6 separate regions of the Homo sapiens genome follow, and all the other regions are linked to region 2. Evidence: promoter capture Hi-C in 16 types of primary human blood cells and fetal thymus (Javierre and others, 2016). All regions are on one chromosome and are shown on one strand. Each heading gives the region's core, a stretch centred on a gene start or on the middle of the fragment in contact. The rest is flanking DNA. Distances are from core to core; before and after follow the strand shown. Region 1 has its middle 36 kb from the start of P2RX7. Region 2 holds the start of MLEC (malectin). Region 3 overlaps LOC105370030 (a long non-coding RNA gene). Region 4 overlaps LOC105370032 (a long non-coding RNA gene). Region 5 holds the start of HNF1A-AS1 (HNF1A antisense RNA 1). Region 6 overlaps LOC105378258 (a long non-coding RNA gene).

Region 1 (3,627 bases), core at 12-2,511, 410 kb after region 2:
CGCTTGAACCCAGGAGGCAGAGGTCGCAGTGAGCCAAGATGGCACCACTGCACTCCAGCCTGGGCGACAGAGCGAGACTCCACATCAAGAAAAATAAATAAATAAATAAATAAATAAATACTGCATGATCTCACTTATATGTGGAATCTAAACTAACCAAACTCATAGAAGCAGAGAGTAGAGTAGAATAGTCGTTGCCAGGGACTGAGGGTTGGAGAAAACGGGGTGTTGTTTAATGGGTATAAAGTGTCAGTTATACAAGATGAGTAAGTTCTGGAGATGTAACGTACAGCGTGTAACAACACTCTGTTGTATACCTGAAATTTCTTAAGAGAGTAGATCTTAAGATCCTTAACCACCCCACCTCCAAAAAAGAAAGAAAGTGGTAACAATGTAAGATGGTGGGTGTTTTAGTTTGCGGTGATCATTTCACAATGTGTATTAAATATCCGGTTGCCCACTTTAAATATATACAATGTTTACTTTTCAAGCATATTCAGATAAAGCTGGGGGAAAACAAACAGCTTTCTGGGGCCATTGTTTGCAGACCCCTGAGTTAGGGCATTGTGTGATGGCTGGGTCAATTTCACTTCAGCATGGTAAGAGGCACGTGACAAAAACTGGCATGAAAGGGGCTGTTGGAACCAAGGGGCAGGAAAGGGCTGCCCTATAGGATCCGCCAGAAGACAGACCGGCATTTCACGAAGTGAGCAAATTCCGGAGGAAATAAAGGATTTCCGTTTTAAGGGGTTGGGAGGCAAGAGAAAAGGCTGAGAGGGTGTGTGTGTCTGAAATGGGGTCTCTGGGTGAGAAAACGTGTGAGATAAAGTGCGAGGCTGGAAAAACGCGCACGTGTGCAGGAGGCGGGGATCTGCTGCACCGAGTGTGCACATTTGCACGAACCGTGGGGGCGTCTGCGGCTGTGGGTGGAGAGGAAATCCTGGATCACACATCTGAGAGAGGGGGTGTGGGTGGGAGTGGGAGAGTATGTAAGAGCGTGGGTCGTGACAGGTGAGGGACTTGTGTGTGCAACTGTGCGTCCTGCGAGAGTGAGGAGGTCTCGGACTGAGGAACTGCGTTCAGTGCTCAGTGGTGAGTTCCCACGCAAGAGCCTGGGGAGTCAACCAGAAAGACCCGCACGCGGGGCGGGCCCAGCGACCTCGGGCGCCATCTGCTGATTACCAGACGCCACTACCTGAGAAAGGCCCCTCCAGTCTCCTCATTGCCCAGCTGCGGACCCTAAGCTGAGCCATAACCGTCCTACCAACCCACGTCAGCAGAAGAGCCCAGTGGGAGGGCGTGTGTTCACTTCTGCTCCTCTGGGCAAAGACGCCCAGGTCAGAAACACCCACCCGACCCTCCCACTACCCAGAGACAGCCCCACCTGCACAGCTCAGAGCAGGACCACTGACCCTCTGGCTCTCCGGTCATATTTGCTATTGAAGACCAGAATAAAGTATTTTTATCAGGATTGAATACATGACTCATGAATGAATAAATTCATTCTCCTTACATATCGGTTCCTATTGAGAAATATGGTGGCTAGAATTTATTTCCTCCGGAAAGAGGAATAAATGTGGAGCCCCTGGGTTTGGTGCTATTTATTACCCATTTCTCTGATGTTGTAAGAAAAGAGAGATTCAGAAGAAATATCACATTTCAGCCCCGAACTTACGTAGCTTGCTGCCGTTCTAGGTGATTTACTTAGATTGGCTTCTGCATTTTGACAAATGAGGAAATTGGGAGAATTAAAGCCTCTGGTTTTAAAGCCTGCTGCTGGGTCAAGTAGAACTGTGACTTTTATTTTTTTTTTTTTAGACAGAGTCTTGCTCTGTTGCCCAGGCTGGAGTGCAGTGGCACAATCTCAGCTCACTGCAACCTCCACCTCCCGGGCTCCCTCAGCGATTCTCCTGCCTCAGCCTCCCAAGCAGCTGGAACTACAGATGCCCACCACCACGCACGGCTAATTTTTGCATTTTTAGTAGAGGTGGAGTTTCACCGTGTTGGCCAGGCTGGTCTCAAACTCCTGACCTCAAATGACCCACCCACCTCAGCCTTCCGAAGTGCTGGGATTACAGGTGTGAGCCACCGTGCCCGGCCCAGAACTATGACATTTTGTTTTTGTTTTTCTCTGTTTCTTTGAAAAGAAATGGAGTGAAGGTGCAGAGATATGAGATAAATTATTTAAACACATTATTATTATTGTTGTTATTATTATTATTATTATTATTATTATTATTGAGTCGGAATTTCACTCTTGTTGCCCAGGCTCGAGTGCAATGGCATGATCTCAGCTCACTGCAACCTCCACCTCATGGGTTCAAGTTATTCTCTTGCCTCAGCCTCCCAAGTAGCTGGGATTACAGGCATGCGCCACCACGTCGGGGTATTTTTTTTTTTTTTTTTTTTTTTTAGTAGAGATGGGTTTCTCCATGTTGGTCAGGCTGGTCTCGAACTCCTGACCTCAGATGATCCACCCACCTCGGCCTCCCAAAGTGCTGGGATTACAGGCGTGAGCCACCGCACCCTGCCTTAAACACGTTATTAAATCAGTAAAATGAAGGGCCTGACAAATAAATGACCACTGAGCTAGGATGTAGAAGACCAAGGCCTGGAAGAAGGGGAGTCTGCCTCTTCTGTCACTGGTGAGCTACGACCTTCCCTGCAGGCACACCCTACGCTGTCCTTCAGGCTGGCTCTCCATGCCCTCGGGGGCCTCGGTCCAAACATCTGGACAAAGGCCCTATGAAAGGACCTCTAACAAAATATTTTCCACCATATTCAGCTAGAGTTGCATGTTTTTCTATTTTTCCTAATGAGAACATAGGACTTGAGAACTGATCATGTGTCTTCGCTTTAATTTGAAATGATCAGAATAATCTGAAAAAAACAGAACTATTGTCCAGGAAATGAGAGAGAACTGAATTCAGTCACTTAAATATATAATCAAATCCCTTCCCCAGCCTTCCCCCACATGTGCTGGTTTTTTCATTCTCACTCTTCAAACTGATCACCTATTAATCATCTAAAACCACAACAAAATGCTTTTGAAAACTTTTTAAAAAGAAGTGCATCTCATTTTATGTAAGTTGTGATGTAAGAAAAATAGTAAGATTATAAAAATATTTTTTACTTTTGATACAGTGACTAGCAAAGGTAAAAAAAAAAAAAAAACATAGGACATCGAAGGGTCAATTCATTGTCTGGGAAGAGGTTTTGGATTTATTTACCAAGCTTCTAAACATGGATCTTCCTAATCATAGAGAAAAAGCCCTTTCAAAGCAGTTGTTGTAGGCCGGGTGCAGTGGCTCAGGCCTGTAATCCCAACACTTTGGGAGGCTGAGGTGGGTGGATCACCTGAGGTCAGGAGTTTGAGACCGGCATGGCCAACATGGTGAAACTCCATCTCTATTAAAAATACAAAAATAGATTGTGGTGGTGTACGCCTGTAGTCCCAACTACTCTGGAGGCTGAGGCGGGAGAATAGCTTGAGCCTGGGAGGTGAAGGTTGCAGTGATCGCGCCACTGCACTCCAGCTTGGGCGACAGAGACTCCATCTCAAAAGAAAAAAGTGTGGTCTAGTGAGGGTGATTTTAAACTGATTAGGTTTAATTCATTTCCTTGATC
Region 2 (3,416 bases), core at 353-2,852:
AAAAAAAAAAAGAAACACCTTGGACAGGAAACATGTCTATGGGAGGAAGTAAGGCCAGATGCTTGCAAAATAGGGGGGAAAGTGAGACCGGGAGGGAACACTTCCAAAAGTTACCCCCATGGGGTCTGAATTTGGGGCCTGGGAAGGAATTTGGGTGCATTTAGATCCACCACTGATAGTCTCTATTTTGGCACCCTGTTTTGTTCCCGTATAGCACTTACCACTGTTCTAACTAAACAATTAATTTCATTATGGGTTGTGCAAAGTCTATGATTCTCATGCGGGACCCCAGGTGTGTTTTTTGTTCATGTAGCACAAAGCTCATTGCCTAAGTAGTAGGTAGGATTGGTAGATAAAATACAAGAAGTCCAGTTGTTTAAATTTTAATAAACAATGCATTTTTTTTTTTAGTATAAGTGGGTCCCATTTGCTTATCTGAAATTCAAATATAACTGGGCTTCTCCTATTTTATCTGCCAAATCTGACAACCCTGGTAGCAGGGACTTGATACATTTTTTTCCTTTTAGGGAGAATTTCTAAATCGACCAGTATTTATGGAAAATGCATAAGCGTTTTTTTGTTTTTTTTGTTTTTGCCTTGACTCTGCCCTACACTTGCGGTGCGACCCTTTGGCAAAATTCAGTCCCTTTCTATGCCTCAGTTTCCCCATCGGAAAAATGGGAGTTTGAACAGCGACCGAAGCGCAGGGATCGCCAGTGTGGGAGAGCGCCAGGTGAACTGTGAAGGAGCAGGGAGGGAGTTCGGGCCGTGCCCGTGCGGGACAACCCCGGTATCCACTCTGGGCACCGCCGGCGGCGACTCCCGCCAGCGCCTAGGGTGCCTCGGTCCCGCCCCTACGCAGCGGAGGCCGGCCAGAGGCCGTCGCCATGGAGACGCGAGCAGCCTGGCACCCACTCGCTCTCAAAGCCACGCGTTTCCGCTGCGTTGGAGCCTTCTCATTGGACGGCCGTCTGGACGCTACCACCCGCCCCGAGCCCGCTAAGGGGAGGGGGCGGGGCCTTATTCTCATGGGATTCGTTCCCTGGAGACCTGTGTCCGCGGCCTCTCTGGGAAAGCATGGGTCCTCTCCCTCACGCGGGGAAAAGGACTGCGTCTCTTAGGTCTGGAGAGTGTCCATTGCTTCTCCTACTAGAATTTATGCTCATGCTGCTCCCTGAGAAAAGAAGAGGGGGCGGGAAAGTCGGCCACGCCCCCTCCAGAGCCTATTTGGTCTCAGGAGCTAGAGCACCGGAAGTGCTGGCGACATGTCAGTGCGCCCTACCCTAAACCTTCCCCCCCCAGGCCACCTTTCCCATTCAGCTGTGGGATTCCGGGGCCGCCTGGGCGCTGCACCCGCCACTTCCGCATCGAACCGCCGCTTCAACCGAACTCACTCCCTCTGCGCGCGCTCCATCTGGTGCCCGACTGCTGGGCCGGCGCCTGGGAGAAGCCACGCCCTTTCCCGCGCCTGACAGCCAATGAGCGGGCGCCTCCCGGCGGGGTGGTGGGTAATTAATGAGGGCCGGGCGCTGATTGGCTGCAGCGTCGTGGCCGGGGGCAGGGCGGCGGGGTAGGTTGTTCCTGAGGTGGGAGGCGGTACCCGTGGCTGAGAAGAAGGAGGCCTGAGAGCGACATGTCCCCGGCGGCTCAGGCGGAGCGGCCCGTGGCGCTGTTTTTCTGAGTCCGGGGTGGCCTGGCAGCCGGCCGAGGACGAGGGTCGGCGGGGGCTGCCCCCGTGGTGGTGGCCGCCATGCTGGGAGCCTGGGCGGTTGAGGGAACCGCTGTGGCGCTCCTGCGACTGCTGCTGCTGCTGCTGCCGCCGGCGATCCGGGGACCCGGGCTCGGCGTGGCCGGCGTGGCCGGCGCGGCGGGGGCCGGGCTGCCCGAGAGCGTCATTTGGGCGGTCAACGCGGGTGGAGAGGCGCATGTGGACGTGCACGGGATCCACTTCCGCAAGGACCCTTTGGAAGGCCGGGTGGGCCGAGGTGAGAGTCCCCCTGCCGAGCCGCGGGATCCAGGGCCTGCTGTGCTGGGCGCAGCCGGCCGGGGGCTGCGGGCCCCGAGCCCCTTTCGACCCTGGGGCCGCGTCTCTGGAGCGAAGTTTCTCTCTGCAGCTTCTTCGGGGGCCCGCTCTGAGCTCAGGGCCTGGCACTGGCTCCAAGGTACCTAGAGTCATACAGGCAGAGAGTTGGCCAGAAGTTAGTTATATTTGGATTTCTCATCCTGCATTTTCTCAACCCCTCACTCCCATCCAAGCTGGGAGAGAAATGACGAAGGCGGCCTTTTGCTACCTCCAGGCCTCGCGGGTTGTAGGTCATGGGTGCCCCTGCTTCTCCTGTCGAGACAGTTCTTGGGAGATTCTCGTCGACCCAGGAATCGGCCGCTTTCCTTGCCCCTTCTGCAGGAGCGGGGCTTGATTCTTAGCCAGAATAGGAAGGAATCTTCGAAGAGAATGGGCCAGGAAAGTTTGATTGTAGCCTCCTCCCCCGCCCTCTTTTCGAGCGAAGAATATGTGTGCTTAAAAGTAGAATCGGCAGGCCGCCCCCAGAGGGTGGTTCTATCGAAGCCATCCTGCACGTGAGGCTGGTGGCTGTGTGTGAACTGGGTCAACCAGTGTAAGAATCCGAATGGTCTATCAGAGAATGCTTACAACCTCCCCTAGGTGATCCTGAGAGTTCTAATTCCAGCTTAGGGGGAAAATGATTGTGACTTAACTTGCTGGGCAACAGTGGTTTTTAACGGAGCTGCTCCCTTCCCAAAGTTAGTGTGTGTCAGAATTGCCAGGGCAGCTGGTTAAAAATGCAGATTCCTAGTCCCCACTCGAAATTGATTATAGTAGATTGAGCTTTTTTGCTGGGATCCAGGTTTCTGCACCAGGGGCTTGTGATGTAGGTTGCCCCGAGACCACCGTTTTGGAAGATCAGCTTTATAATCTTTGTTTCTTCTGTTGGAGGGATTGGAAAACAGGTTTCAGAAGGAAGTTCTTTGCTAGGAGATTGATACTGTATGCTGGGTTCAGAGGCTACCAAATTGGCAGTATGCCACCTCCAGACAACCAGGAGACAGACTCACTCTTCACTTTCTCTCATTCTTTTTCTGCGATGCCCAGATTTGGCTCTTGCTTTTACTAAAATAGTTAGTTCTTCCCAAGTCGATTGCAGTGTCCTGGAGTTTGTTATATTAAGGAGTTTATTGCCTTTCACACATGTGAGGGTCTTGGGACACAGGGCTGTTTTGTGAAGTTCTATGTTTGTCTTGGAGTTTGTTGAGCCCTGGCATGTAGATCACAGTAGCCTGGGTTCAGCTGACTCAGGGCTCCAGTCTTTAGCAGCGGTAACAGCAGCCAAAGCCAGACTTTATAGCAGGAGGTCATTACTATCTCTATCCTGGACCCTTCCTCTTTCTTCACGAGTGTG
Region 3 (3,689 bases), core at 377-2,876, 430 kb after region 2:
TGTAGTCCCAGCTACTCAGGAAGCTGAGGCAGGAGAATGGCGTGAACCCGGAAGGCGGAGCTTGCAGTGAGCCGAGATCGCGCCACTGCACTCCAGCCTGGGCAACAGTGTGAGACTCCATCTTAAAAAAAAAAAAAAAAAAAAAGTCATCATCTTAGGGAGGTCTTTTCTGATCACCCTATTTAAAAGTTCAGGCTGGGCGTCATGGCTCACACCTGTAATCCTAGCACTTTGAGAGGCTGAGGCAGGAGAATCACTTGAACCTGGGAGGCGGAGGTTGCAGTGAGCCGAGATTGCGCCACTGCACTCCAGCCTGGGCGACAGAATGAGACTCTGTCTCAAAAAACATAAAAAAATAAAAATAAATAAAAATAAGTTAGCTCCATGCTTTTAACTCAGTAACAAAAAGACAAATGACCAACGTCAAAAGTGAGCAAAGGACTATCTAAGAAGATATATATACACGGCCAATGGGCACATGAAAAGATGCTCACCACGTAATGATATGTATTAGGGAAACACAGATCAAAACCACAGGACACACGACTTCCTATCACTAGGATGACTGTTATTTTAAAAATGGAAAATAACAAGTATTGGTGAGGAGATGAAGAAATTGGAAGCTTTGTATATTACTGATAGGAGTGTAAAATGGTGCTGCTGCTGTGGGAAACTGGCCATTCCTAAAAAAGTTAAACATAGAATTACCATATACCCAGCAGTTCCACTTTTAGGTTTTTACCCCAAAGAATTGAAAATGGGGACTCAAGCAGATACCATTTTTATTTTTATTTTTTATTTTTAGTAGAGATGGGGTTTCACCGTGTTGGCCAGGCTGGTCTCGAACTCCTGATCTCGAGTGATCCACCCGCCTCGGCCTCCCAAAGTGCTAGGACTGCTGGCGTGAGCCACCATGCCTGGCCTCAAACAGATACTTGTAACCTAAATGTTCACAACAGCACTATTCACAGTAGCCAAAGATGGAGACAACCCAGATGTCCCTAAACAGACGAATGGATTAACAAAATGTGGTCTATCCATGTGATTCAATTTTACTCAGCCATAAAAAAGAATGAAAGGCACATGCTACCACATGAATGAACCTTGAAAACAAGGTGAGATTCTTGTGAAAGGAGCTAGTCACAAAAGGCCACATAGTGTATGATGCCATTTATGTGAAATATCCAAAAACAGACAAACCCACACAGAGAAAGAAAAGCAACGGTTACCAGGGGCTGGAGGAGGAGGAATGGCCAAATGGGTACGGGGTTTCCTTTTGGGGTGATGAGAATGTTCTGGAACTAGACAGAAATAGTGGTTACATAACACTGTGAATGAACTAAATGCCACTCAATTGTTCACTTAAAAAAAAACAGAGATGGAGTCTTGTCGTGTTGCCTAGGTTGGTCTCTAACTCCTGGGATCAAGCAATCCTCCCGCCTCAGCCTCCCAAAGTGCTGGGATCACAGGCCTGAGCCACCGCGCTGGCCAATTGTTCACTTTTAAATGATTAATTTCATGTTATTTGAATTTCACCTCAATGGAAAAACTCAGCCCCAAACATGCCTTATCTTCCCTCCCTACCTGATTTTTCTCCTAATGCACAGGGCCCCTCACACATGGTATGTCCGGCCTATGTGTCCATTGTTCATCCTGCTTCTTTAAAATATAAATTCCAACAGGGTAAGGATTTCATCTGTTTTGTTAACTCACATATGCCCAAAGAGTCTCTGGTACTCAATAAATATTTGTTGAATAAATGAATTAGATAGGGTGTGGTGATGGAGAGAGTCCCGCCGCCATCCCTGCCCCCATCTCTAATTCTAACGTTCTAACCCGGCTCTTGACCTTGGAGCCGGTTAACGATGATCCTGTCTGGGCTCATTTTCCCTCCTTTTCCTGAAGAGCAGCATCCACAGGCCCTCACTCAGCTCACTCCCTTTTAACCCTTGTCTGCTGAGAGTTTGAGATAAAGGGGGCCACGAGAGAAGACAATGAATCCATTACAATGTGTGATGAGCTGTCTGCTCTGTGGCTTCCCACAGCAATTTATCATGACCTGGAACCACAGCTGTGAGGCCGGGTGTTCCCCCGCCAGGACCTCACTCCCCAGCTGCTTCAGAAGGGAACATTTACAGGAACCTGTCCATACCTATTTAATGAACAGCTGCTCGGATGCAGCCCTGTCCCAGGCACTCAGCCAAATGACAAATGAACTATATAATCATTCATTCATTCGATGATTCATCCATTCTGTGATTGATTGATTCATTCATTCATGTGGTTGTCAAACATTCATTGAGCACCTACTATGTGCCAGACACTGTACCTTGCACTGTGGCCCTTAATATCAGAGATGTCAATGTATGATAGACCAGGATTCCTCAGCCTAGGCACTGGGGACACTTTTGTTTTTTGTTGTTGTTGTTGCTGTTTTTGAGACAGGGTTTCACTCTGTGGCCCAGGCTGGAGTACAGTGGCACAATCACAGCTCACTGCAGCCTCAACCTCCTGGGCTGAAGCAATCCTCCCACCTCAGCCTCTTAAGTAGCTGCGATTACAGGCACACGCCACCATGCCTGGCTAATTTTTTTGTATTTTTTGTAGAGATAGGGTCTCCCTGTATTGCTTAAGCTTGTCTTGAACTCCTGAGCTCAAGCTATCCTCCTGTCTCAGCCTCCTAAAGTGCTGGGATTACAGGTGTGAGCCACCATGCCTGGCTACTGTGCACATTGGAACCAGGTATTTCTTTGTCACAGGGGTTGTCCTATAGATTAGCAGCACCCCTGGCTGCAGATGCCAGTAGCACTCCCTCAGTCGTGACAACTAAGATGTCTCCAGACATTGCCAAACGTCCCTGGGGCACACAGTCATCCCTAGTTGAGAACCACTGGTCTAGACAAGTATATTTTCCTCAAATTATCAGAGAAAAAAATGCTTTTATTTTTGCTGTTTCCTCCTTCTCTCCCTCTCTCTCTCCCCCTACTTACCTACCTACCTGGCTAGTTAAATTGGAAAGCAAAAGCATAATTACAGCTAACATTTGTAAATAGCACATAGTAAGGGGTCATTTTATCTTGGTTATTCTCGCAACAACTATATGGGCAAAATGCCACCAATGTTCACTTTACAGATGAAGAAATCAAGGCCCAGAGATGCTAAGCAAGTTGTCCAGGGTCACACCAAGATGAAGGGGCAGAGCTGGGGTTCAAATCCAGGTCCATATGACTCCAGAGCCCGGGTGCCACCAGATTAAGATTAAGATTAAGAGACCAGGTTAAGCAATATAGGAAGACCCTATCTCTACAAAAAAATACAAAAAAAATTAGCCAGGCATGGTGGCATGCACCCGTAGTCGCAGCTAACTGAGAGGCTGAGGCGGGAGGATTGCTTCAGCCCAGGAGGTTGAGGCTGCAGTGAGCTGTGATTGTGCCACTGCACTCCAGCTGGGCCATAGCGTGAAGCCCTGTCTCAAAAACAATAACAACAAAAACAAAAAACAAAAGTGTCCACAGTGTCTAGGCTGAGGAATCCACTGTGCCACACTCCCTGGCACACAGCCTCACACATTGTAGTGAGCAATAAACATTTATTACCTCAGTGAATGAACACAAGAATGGGGCAAGGATTCTGAGAAAGGCCTGGAGAAGCATAGGCTGCAATTGGAGGCTTGATGTTCTGGAGGGACG
Region 4 (3,528 bases), core at 1,016-3,515, 510 kb after region 2:
CTGGAGTGCAGTGGCACAATCTCGGCTTACTGCAACCTCTGCCTCCCGGGTTTAAGCAATTCTCCTGCCTCAGCCTCCCAAATAGCTGGGATTACAGGCGCCCGCCACTGTGTCCGGCTAATTTTTGTATTTTTAGTAGAGACGGGGTTTCACCATGTTGGCCAGGCTGGTCTCGAACTCCTGACCTCAGGTGATCTGCCTGCCTTGGCCTCCCAAAGTGCTGGGATTACAGGCATGAGCCACCGTGCCTGGCCCATACATTCTTTTTTAGGATGCACAAGGAAGGGTTATAACAACAGATATGCATTAGATCATGTATTTTCCTCAATACATTCCCAACAGCAATATGATACAGACCAGGTTCTCTAACCACATTTCAAGGAAATTAGAAATTCATTTTCTTTTTTTTCTTTTTTTTTTTTTTTCATTTGAGACAGAGTCTCGCTCTGTCGCCAGGGCTGGAGTGCAGTGGTGCAATCTCGGCTCGCTGAAACCTCCACCTCCTGGGTTCAAGCAATTCTCCCTACCTCAGCCTCCCGAGTAGCTGGGATTACAGACGCCTGCCACCATGCCCGGCTAATTTTTGTATTTTTAGTAGAGACAGGGTTTCGCCATGTTGGCCAGGCTGGACTCGAACTCTTGACCTTAGGTGATCTGCCTGCCTCAGCTTCCCAAAGTGTTGGGATTATAAGCGTGAGCCACCACGCCAGCCAGAAATTAATTTTTAAGAGGTAGATTTTTAAAATATTTGGAAGCTGATTGAAATATTGTAAGAAATATTGCTAAATGACTCAATAGAACTGGATAATGAATGTAATATATGTCAAAATCGGTGGCACACAGCTAAAGCAGAACTTTATTTTCATATTTATATTATTTTTATTTTTATTTTTATTTTTATTTTATTTATTTATTTATTTTTGAGACGGAGTCTCACTCTGTTGCCCAGGCTGGAGTGCAGTGGCACGATCTTGGCTGACTGCAAGCTCCACCTCCCGGGTTCACACTATTTTTATTATTATTATTATTATTATTATTATTATCATTATTATTATTATTTGAGCTGTAGTCTCACTCTGTCGTGCAGACTGGAGTACAGTGGCGTGATCTTGGCTCACTGCAAACTCCGCCTACCAGGTTCAAGTGATTCTCCTGCCTCAGCCTCCCAAGTAACTGGGATTACAGGTGTGCACCACCACACGCAGATAATTTTTGTATTTTCGTAGAGATGGGGTTTCGCCATGTTGGCCAGTCTGTTCTCGAACTCCTGGCCTCAAGAAATCTGCCCTCCTCACCTCCCAAAGTGCTGGGACTACCGGCATGAGCCACTGCGCCCGGCCAAATGGCAGATTTTGTCCAAATGGAAGGCTAAGGCTGACCCTAAGGCTAACCCTAACCTTAGCCCTAATGCTAACCCTAATTGGGTTAGGGTAAAATGACTAAAGGCAAGAGATAAGCATTCTGGATATTTCTTAGGGCAGGAAAGAAGCAACTTTTATCCTCCACTGACCCAAAGAAATTGACTGTACTTTGTCCCCCACTTCCCACTCAATTTCCTACTTTGATGCCCATTCCCCCTCCCCTTGTCCATCCCAAGCTTCACTCTGGAGACAGTAGCTAAACCTGTGCTAGTTAAACTTGACCCAGATCTGTTAGAAAAGAAGGGGCTATTGCAAGAAGCAGGGCGGCTTCAAAGAAAGCCAAAAGAAACTAACTGTACTGAGTCACCCCACTTCCCTCTCAATTTCCTATTGCCCAGAGAATGGAACTCATGAGATAGAAAAACGAGAAAAAGGGAAGCAAGTGAAGAAAGGGATAGGGCGCTACTCTCCACAAACACTTCCTGTTGGCTGTGCTGACATCACTGCATGCCATGTATCTCATGATTCGGTGTGTAGCTCACACACCTAACGCCTTAGACAACAAGAGCGAAAATCCATCTCAAAAATAAATAAATAAATAAATAATTGGGGAAATCTCAACAGAACATTTTGTGATTCTTATGTGGACTTAAAGGTTATTCTTATCCACCTCTAAAACAACTGAAAATGCAAAATGTTATAACACGTTGATAGTTTTGGAGTCTGAGGAGTCCTGCTTTCCTTCCTTCCCTCTTAGCGACCAATTATTATCTCTTTATTTTATTTTATTTTTTTAGATGGAGTCTCGCTCTGTTGCCCAGGCTGCAGTGCAGCAGCACAATCTCGGCTCACTGCAACCTCCGCCTCCCGGGTTCAAGCAATTATCCTGCCTCAGCCTCCTGAGTAGCTGGGATTACAGGCACCCACCACCATTCCCAGCTAATTTTTGTATTTTTAGTAGAGACAGGGTTTCACCATGTTGGTCAGGCTGGTCTCGAACTCCTGACCTCGTGATCTGCCCACCTCAGCCTCCCAAAGTTCTGGGATTACAGGCATGAGCCACCCTGCCTGGCTATCTTTTTTTAAATTATTTTTTAGAGACATAGTCTCACCATGTTGCCCAGACTGGCTTTGAACTCCTGGGCTCAAGCCTCCTGAGTAGCTGGGACTATAGGCTATGAACTATTATCTTATGGAGGATAAAGGGAGGCATAATGAACCAGAAAAATTTGCAAGGAGACCTCCAGAATGTTTTATCAGAAACAAATGAGTTTGAGCTTTTACTCAACTGTAAAATGGGATTCTGAGTATCACTCACGTGAAGGTGGTTTTCAAAAGATAAAATGCTGTTCAGAGCCAAAGAAACGTGCATTCTTGTTGTGTCAGATTTAGATCTGCTGGAGAATGCTTATTTAGCTAATAATCCAGTAATTGTTGAGGGATGGGAAAGACTCAACACTGTGTGTTTCAGAAAACCTGTCTTCACCAGAGAAAAAAGCAGATGGGTCTTCACAACGAGACAAGTTATATAAAAGGCACACTTTGTTATTTTGTTTTGATTCAAACTTTCAGGTAAGCTTGAAGGTGTCTGATACAAGATCACAAGAAATGTAGTTTTCTATTTTTTTTCACACTTTAAAAAAAAATTCCCCACGGTTTTTGTTTTGTTTTGTTTTTGAGACACAGTCTCACTCTGTCACCCACAGCAAGTGCAGTAGCGCGATCTCGGCTCACTGAAACCTCTGTCTCCCGGGTTCAAGCAATTCTCCTGTCTCAGCCTCCCACGTAGCTGGGATTACAGGTGCCCACCACCATGCCTGGCTAATTTTTGTATTTTTAGTAGAGATGGGGTTTCACCATATTGGTCAGGCTGGTGTCAAACTCCTGACCTCAGGTGATCCACCCACCTTAGCCTCCCAAAATGCTGGGATTACAGGTGTGAGCCACTGTGCCCGGCTGGTTTGGGTTTTTTTGAAACAGGGTCTTGCTCTGTCACCCAGGCTGGAGTGCAGTTGTATGATCTTAGCTCTCCACCTCCTGGGCTCAAGGGATCCTCCCACCTCAGACTCCTGAGTAGCTGGAACTACAGACATGTGCCACCACGCCTGGCTAATTTTTTGTACTTTTTGTAGAGATGGGGTCTTGCCATGTTGCCCAGGCTGGTCTT
Region 5 (3,803 bases), core at 593-3,092, 290 kb after region 2:
ACTGACATCACTGAACACAGTGGAAAGTGATGACTGCAGTTGTCTCTCCTGGGAGCTTCAACACAGTACAGGCTGACAAAAGTGGGCAGGGGGTAAGGGCAGGTGGTGGGAGTGGCCTCTACGCCAGAGAAGGGAATGGAGAGGTCAGGCTGGCTAGAGAGTGGGGTTGAGTCGTCCATGCCCTTGAATGCCAGGATGAGGGCTAAAGAGTCAAATGGAATGGGTGACTTCATATGCAGAAGTTTTTACAAGAGAAGAGAACTCAGTTTGGCCAAGAGAAGTGGGGTCGTCATGTTGGTAATCACGTAACAGTGATCGTTCAGTCATGCGGAATGCTTTCAAGGTGTTGGACACTGTTCATTTTTTATTTTTAGTTTTTGAGGCAGGGTCTCACTCTGTCGCCCAGGCTGGAGTGCAGTGGTGCAATCTTGGCTCACTGCAACCTCTGTCTCCTGGGTTCAAGCGATTCTTCTGCCTCAGCCTCCCTAGTAGCTCGGATTACAGTTGTTTGCCACCACGCCCGGCTAATTTTTGTATTTTTAGTAGAAATGAGGTTTCGCCATGTTGGCCAGACTGGTCTCGAACTCCTGACCTCAAATGATCCACCTGCCTCGGCCTCCCAAAGTGCTGGGATTGCAGGTGTGATCCACCACACCTGGCCGCTTGCAGGGTGTTGGACACTGTGGATATCACCTCATTCATTCTCCTAACAACCCAAGAGAAGAGGAACTGAGGCAAAGAGAAGTTAAGCAAGTTGCCCAAGGCCATACGGCTAGTAAACGGCAGAACGAGGCTCAAACCCAGGCACTCTGGCTCTAGAGTGTGTGTTCCTAACCACTGTGCTCTAGCACCTCGGAACCTTAGTCTCTTCATCTGCAAAATCAGCACTGAGGTGACAAGGCCAACGAGCAGAGGGTTGGAGTTACCCAGAACAACAACAACAACAAAAGTAATAGTAACACATATTTGGTCAAGGCTTAGATTCTGGCGTCATGGGGATCTGGGTTCAAATCCTAATTCTGCCTTAGCCGATTAGGGTCCCTATCCTCTTAAAGCCTTGGTTTCCTTATCTGTAAAATGGGGATATCATGAAGCTGTTAGATGTTAAATGAGAAAATGAATGAGAAAATTGCATGTACTGTCCATAAAGTTGAAAAGATAATAGGGGTGGGAAGGAGAACAGTCCGAGTTTGAATGCAGGTGGGCCCTGGGGCATTGTCTGGACTGAAGGACAAGGGTCAGTTGAATTGCCAAAGAGCTCTGAGACTGGCTGAAGGGACACTCGTCTTGTGCTAGCTGCTAAGACCAAGGGGAAGCCTGTGCCTCGCCCGAATTTTAGTCTTGCAAACAGCTGCTCACCCAGTAGGAGAGAATTGTGATAAAACTCATAGCCACCATTTCTTGAATATCTACTATGCCCCGGGACACAGCAGACTATTTTAGAGAATTTGCGAAGGAAACACAGTGACATCTGTTGGACACCTTGCAAACTACCAGCTCAGGATAGTTAAATTTGAATGTTAGATGGAGGGAACTTCCTTTCCACAATGACATGATTTTGTAAAGCTGAGTGTATGGCAGTTGTCATGATTAAAAGCAAGTGCCATGCAGAAGTTATTGTGTAACAGGAAATGAGATTAGATAGCGTCCAATCTAATCTCAAGGTTTGAGTAGCTGTGGACAGCCCAACAGGCACAGGCCTCCCGTTAGTACATCCATACGAGAAGTTAAGAATGAGTGAAAATAGTTTTTTTTTTTTTAATTTATGTGCATTATTTTTTTCAAGCAGCTACCTTGTTAGGACATACTTAATAGTTATCTTGGCCTACCTACTGCACTTACTAAACAACTGTTCACTTTTTAATTTTTAATTTTCAGATTTTTTTGAGACGGATTGTTACTCTATCGCCCAGGCTGGAGTGCAGTGGCGTGATCTCTGCTCACTGCAACCTCCGCCTCCCGGGTTCAAGCTATTCTCCTGCCTCAGCCTCCTGAGTATCTGGGACTACAGGTGTGCGCCACCACATCCAGCTAATTTTTGTATTTTTAGTAGAGATGGGGTTTTACCATGTTGGCCAGGCTGATCTGGAACTCCTGACCTCAGGTGATCCACCTGCCTCGGTCTCCCAAAGCGCTGGGATTACAGGTATGAGCTACCATGTCCGGCTGTTCCTTTTTTTTTTTTTCTTTTTCTTTTTTTTTTGAGACGGAGTTTCTCTCTGTCACCCAGGCTGGAGTGCAGTGTCATGATCTCAGCTCACTGCAACCTCTGCCTTCTGGGTTCAAGTGATTCTCCTGCCTCAGCCTTCCGACTAGCTGGGATTATAGGTGCCCACTGACAAGCCTGGCTAATTTTTGTATTTTTAGTAGAGACGGGTTTTCACCATGTTGGCCAGGCTGGTCTCGAACTCCTGACCTCAAGTGATCCACCCACTTCGGTCTCCCAAAGTGCTGGGATGACAGGCATGAGCCACTGCGCCCAGCCACTGTTCGCTTTTTTTCTCAGTGGTTCTCTAGTCCATTGCCTTAACCACTCACCATGACTACAGCTCTTATTTGCAGTGACTCTCAAGAATGCAAATGCAAATGCCATTCCTGACCTCGAGTTAATTCAGCTTTGTCCCCTGAGCATGGGGGAAAGGCAGGCTGGGGGCTGGAACTTTCTGCTTGTGTACCTATCTCTTTAGACTCTGGAGGCTCCTCCCCAATCTCTGTCATTCCCTCTCCAACCAAATCCACCTGCCGTCCCAGACTCAAATGCTCAGCCACCTAACTGCCTGAGGACCCAGCAGTTAATGAGTTTACATGCTGGGGGCAGGAGTCAGGGCCAACACTCCTTGGTTCCTCTGGCTCCCTGGAAAGGGAAAGTCACCAAGAGGCAGCTGCAGGCAGCAAAGAGAATAAGCAGGAGAACCTCAAAGCCACAAAGGGACAGCACACAGCATCTTCCCTGTTTAGCCTGGACTTGAGAATGCTGTCCCCAGCAGTAAGCTGCTCAACCTCAAAGCAACTTGCACGGGGGTTTACAAAAAAATGCACTTGGCCGGGCACGGTGGCTCACGCCTATAATCCCAACAGTTTGGGAGGCCGAGGTGGGTGGATCTTTTGAGGCCAGGAGTTTGAGACCAGCCTGGCAAACATGGTGAAACCCTGTCTCTACCAAAAATACAAAAATTAGCCAGGCATGGTGGTGTGTGCCTGTAGTCCCAGCTACTCAGGAGGCTAAGGTAGGAGGATTGCTCGAACCCAGGAGGCAGAGGTTACAGTGAGCTGAGATCGCACCACTGTACTCCAGCCTGGGTGACAAAGTGAGGCTCTGTCTCAAAAATAAAAATAAAACATAAATGCACTGGAGGAAAGAGGGTACCACTCTCCTTAAGGCGGGGGCTGCCAACTTGTCCTGCACAGCCCGTCCGCCTGCCTCAGGTGGACTTAAAGCCCAGCTCTGAGGGACTCTGAGCAGTCATTTAACCTCTCTGAGCCTCTCTTTCCTCCCCTGCAGAAGGGGGATTATAACAGTTCCTAATTCATGAGTTGTTCTTGGAGTGAAATACATTACTGGCCAGGTGAGATGGCTCATGCCTGTAATCCCAACACTTTGGGAGGCTGAGGTGAGAGGATTGCTTGAGCCCAGGAGTTCGAGACCAGCCTGGGCAACAAAGCAAGACCCCCATCTCTAAGAAAAGTAAATAAATAGGCAGGGTGCAGTGGCTCACCCCTGTAATCCCAGCACCTTGGGAGGACGAGGTGGGCAGATGGCTTGGGCTCAGGAGTTTGAGACCAGCCTGGGCAATGTGGCAAAC
Region 6 (3,290 bases), core at 59-2,558, 380 kb after region 2:
TTGGGAAGTTCTATTGACATTTTCTCAGGTTCACGGATTTCTTCATCAACCACGTGCAGTCCACTGACGGGTCCATCAAAGGCCTTCTCCGTTTCTGTTACGGCATTTTTTATTTCTAGCATTCCCTTTTGATTCTTAGAGTTTTCACTTCTCTACTTACATCCCATTGGTTCTTGAATCTCATCCACTTTTTCCATTAGAGCCTTTAGCATATTAATCATAGTTATCAGTCTGATAATCATCAAATCTCTGTATATTGCAGTCTGGCTCTGATGCATGCTCTGTCTCTTCATACTGTGGTTTTTGCCCTTTAATATGCTTTGAACATTTTAGGATGAAGATGAGAGAGTTGTTATGTTTCAAAGAAAATAGGTACTGGTTGGGCGCGGTGGCTGACGCCTATAATCCCAGCACTTTGGGAGGCCGAGGTAGGTGGATCACCTGAGGTCAGGAGTTTGAGACCAGCCTGGCCGACACAGTGAAACCCCTTCTCTACTAAATATACAAAAAATTAGCTGGGCGTGGTGGCATGCACCTGTAATCTGAGCTACTTAGGAGGCTGAGGCAGGAGAATGGCTTGAACCCGGGAGATGGAGGTTGCAGTGAGCCGAAGTGGTGCCATTGCACTCCAGCCTGGGCAACAAGAGCCAAACTCCGTTTGGAAAAAAGAGTCTTCTCGTTATTTATCAGTTTGGGACAGGTGCTGAGGAGCGGCCAAGCACTGAAAGAATTTTACTGGCTGTCCCAAGTGGTGTCCCCGAGCTCTCAAAATCTACGAGCTGTCCGAAAGCATTTGGGCTTTCTAAGTGGGTTTCACATAATGACTATGATAAACCTGTGGTATTTATGCACTAATACCTGTGCTGGGCTATGTGCCCACTGACACCAGCATATATTGTGGATAGTGTGTAGGAACTCTATAGGCTCAGATAATTCCAGACGTGTCAATACATACAGATGATGGAACTCTTTTGCACAGTGACTGGTGGTCCCACAGCTGAGTGATGATGGTGCATCCGTTGCTCAGAGCCTCGGCGCTGGAGCCACATGCTTGGGTTCCCATCTTGGCTCTTTTACTTAGGAGCTCATAAACTTGATCACATTCATCTCTGTCTCTTTTTCTCCAACCGGTGAAAGGTGAGAGTAAGCCACGCCATACGTATGTGGTGACTTCTGAATTGTTCAATGTGTATAATGTTATCAGTGCAAATGCTCATGAAGCTTAATTATCAGTGAAATGCCTTGCTTTAGATTGCACGACTTAACAAGCTCAAAGATTCATGCAAGCCCGGGATTCCGAACTCCCAAGCCATTGTTCTTTCTATGACATCTTCCTGCTTGGTCTACAACCAACCACTTTATCCAAATTCATACTCAATTTTGAAATACTCAGATAAAGCTTTCAAAAATGCTGTCTGTGTCTGGCTGAGTGCACACTCAATGGCCACTCCACATAAAAGGGCACATTAGGAGGCCTGGCACGGTGGCTTATGCCTGTAATCCCAGCACTTTGGGATGCCAAGGCAGGTGGATCACCTGAGGTCAAGAGTTCGAGACCAGCCTGGTTAATATGGGGAAACCCTGTCACTACTAAAAATACAAAAAAAAATTTTTTAAAGGGCACTATGGTCCTCCAGAGTGGTCCAGTTGCTTGAGTCATGGTCAACAGATGAGCTGTGCGAATGAGATGAATACCAGTGTCCTGGGTGGAGCCGCTTATCTACTGACAAGTCTGCTGTGCTAAAAGTGGTGAAAAATATCATCTTGCCTTATTTATTCCTAGCAAATGTAAGTGCCTCTAACCTTAGATTGCTTCCGAGTCATGGAACCAACAGTATCTTAGCATCAACTCCGGGTGATGGGTTAGGGGAACAAGTCACACAATATATCAAAACAATATAAACAGTTTTTCAGAGCTGCAGCTCTATATGCAAACTTGTACAATTATCACCTTATTATTTTTAAATTTATCTTTATATATATATCCATATGACTTACTTGTTTCTTGGTGTGAATAAATCTGTATATTCTTGGTTAATAGTGTCTACCGATTCATTTCATGTCCCTATCTTTATTCAATATGGGCTACTCTTTGGATGAGAAAAAAATGATTGTACTTGAGTATATTTACCTTTGGAAAGGTAAGTAGGTTGGGTGATTGACTGTAGTTGATACCTCTATGATTCTGCATAAACTCATTTATAAAATAAACTCAAATCATAAAATAAATAATAAAAAATAAAAGTGGATCTTGTTTTACACACGAACACATAGACAATACACATTCTTATTATCTCTTTTTTAAAAAGTTGATTTATGGATATAAATGACATATCCCAAGTTTACTAAACTAAATAAACATTTCATCAAGAGGAAATACATATTAAAAGCAAAGATAGGTAAACTTGATTGCGTGAAAAGCCACAAAGACATCTGCATCTTTCTAGGTTTGCTCCAAATTTTTGAAATTAATTATTTTAGTAGCTACTTAATTAGGTAAAAAAACTGCATTACAACAAACTTTGCCATATTTTCCCCAGGAGTATACCTAATTGGGCAGTTTGAGGGGTACAGGATGTAATAGGAAATAGCACATGTTCTTTAAAGGAAAAATTCAAAGGGAACCTGCTTGACGCTAGAATCAAATATATAAATTAAGGAATAAAATAGATCCCCAAAACACATTTATAACCGCATACGAAAAATACAGAGGATAATTTTTAAATACATTTAAGAGGACAGCATTCAACAGGCCAGTGTGAACATACCTCTAATGCAGGAACTCAGGTTTCCCATAAGAAATACCAAAATCTGGCCGGCACGGTGCAGAGTGAGACTCTGTCTCCACCACGCCCGGCCAGAGGTTCCATTCTTGAAATTCCATCACCAGATATTTCTATCATTCCTAAGTGATCTAATATTTCTAGAAGCAATAAGCAAACTGTTCAGAATTAGATAAAAGACAGCATAAATAGATATTCAGTTATAAAAATCATATTTCTCTAAAAGTTATATTTCTAAAAGTCATATTTCCCTAAAAAGTCATATTTCTACCATTCCTGAGAGATCTAATATTTCTAGAACCTATAAACAAACTGTTTGGAATTAGATAAAAGATAGCATTAGTTGATATTAAATAAAAATCGTATTTTTTTTACTTTTTAAAATATATTTTTTATTAAAAATAAAAAATAGTATTTAATATTTTAATTAAATAAAAATCATATTTCTCTAACAATATAATTATCAAAGTTAATTTTTCCACTTATCTCTATATATTACTATGCATT

The links. Contacts are between HindIII fragments. The CHiCAGO score rates a contact against its expected background, and 5 or more counts as called.
Region 1: a fragment that was not itself captured here is called in contact with the fragment with the promoter of MLEC in region 2 in 2 of 17 cell types (total B cells and naive B cells); the score reaches 6.5 in total B cells.
Region 3: a fragment that was not itself captured here is called in contact with the fragment with the promoter of MLEC in region 2 in 1 of 17 cell types (total B cells); the score reaches 5.1 in total B cells.
Region 4: a contact is called between a fragment that was not itself captured here and the fragment with the promoter of MLEC in region 2, in 1 of 17 cell types (naive B cells). The highest score is 5.7, in naive B cells.
Region 5: a contact is called between the fragment with the promoter of HNF1A-AS1 here and the fragment with the promoter of MLEC in region 2, in 3 of 17 cell types (activated CD4 T cells, megakaryocytes and total B cells). The highest score is 6.7, in activated CD4 T cells.
Region 6: a fragment that was not itself captured here is called in contact with the fragment with the promoter of MLEC in region 2 in 2 of 17 cell types (total B cells and naive B cells); the score reaches 6.5 in total B cells.

The regions. Positions count from the first base shown.
Region 1 is chr12:121,094,954-121,098,580 of GRCh38, forward strand. No RefSeq gene overlaps it. Among named protein-coding and RNA genes, the nearest start is that of P2RX7, 36 kb to the right of the region's middle. The HindIII fragment of the contact is 3,941 bases long and covers 1-3,232 here.
Region 2 is chr12:120,685,547-120,688,962 of GRCh38, forward strand. It overlaps MLEC (malectin), which reads left to right and starts at 1,603. Exons shown (of 5, transcript NM_014730.4): 1 at 1,603-1,985. The coding sequence starts at 1,751. It overlaps LOC105370029 (a long non-coding RNA gene), which reads right to left and starts at 1,603. Exons shown (of 3, transcript XR_945449.3): 1 at 1,308-1,603. RefSeq lists silencers at 722-821, 1,662-1,961 and enhancers at 982-1,091, 1,182-1,311, 1,406-1,907. The HindIII fragment of the contact is 12,504 bases long and covers 1-3,416 here.
Region 3 is chr12:121,112,162-121,115,850 of GRCh38, forward strand. All of the region lies in intron 1 of LOC105370030 (a long non-coding RNA gene), which reads left to right. Among named protein-coding and RNA genes, the nearest start is that of P2RX7, 19 kb to the right of the region's middle. The HindIII fragment of the contact is 2,011 bases long and covers 622-2,632 here.
Region 4 is chr12:121,195,276-121,198,803 of GRCh38, forward strand. All of the region lies in intron 2 of LOC105370032 (a long non-coding RNA gene), which reads right to left. Among named protein-coding and RNA genes, the nearest start is that of P2RX4, 13 kb to the right of the region's middle. The HindIII fragment of the contact is 1,341 bases long and covers 1,596-2,936 here.
Region 5 is chr12:120,970,450-120,974,252 of GRCh38, forward strand. It overlaps HNF1A-AS1 (HNF1A antisense RNA 1), which reads right to left and starts at 1,843. Exons shown (of 1, transcript NR_024345.1): 1 at 1-1,843. RefSeq lists an enhancer at 2,436-2,963. The HindIII fragment of the contact is 11,110 bases long and covers 1-3,803 here.
Region 6 is chr12:121,066,569-121,069,858 of GRCh38, forward strand. LOC105378258 (a long non-coding RNA gene) reads right to left here. Exons shown (of 4, transcript XR_007063492.1): 3 at 2,769-2,923. Among named protein-coding and RNA genes, the nearest start is that of OASL, 29 kb to the left of the region's middle. The HindIII fragment of the contact is 178 bases long and covers 1,220-1,397 here.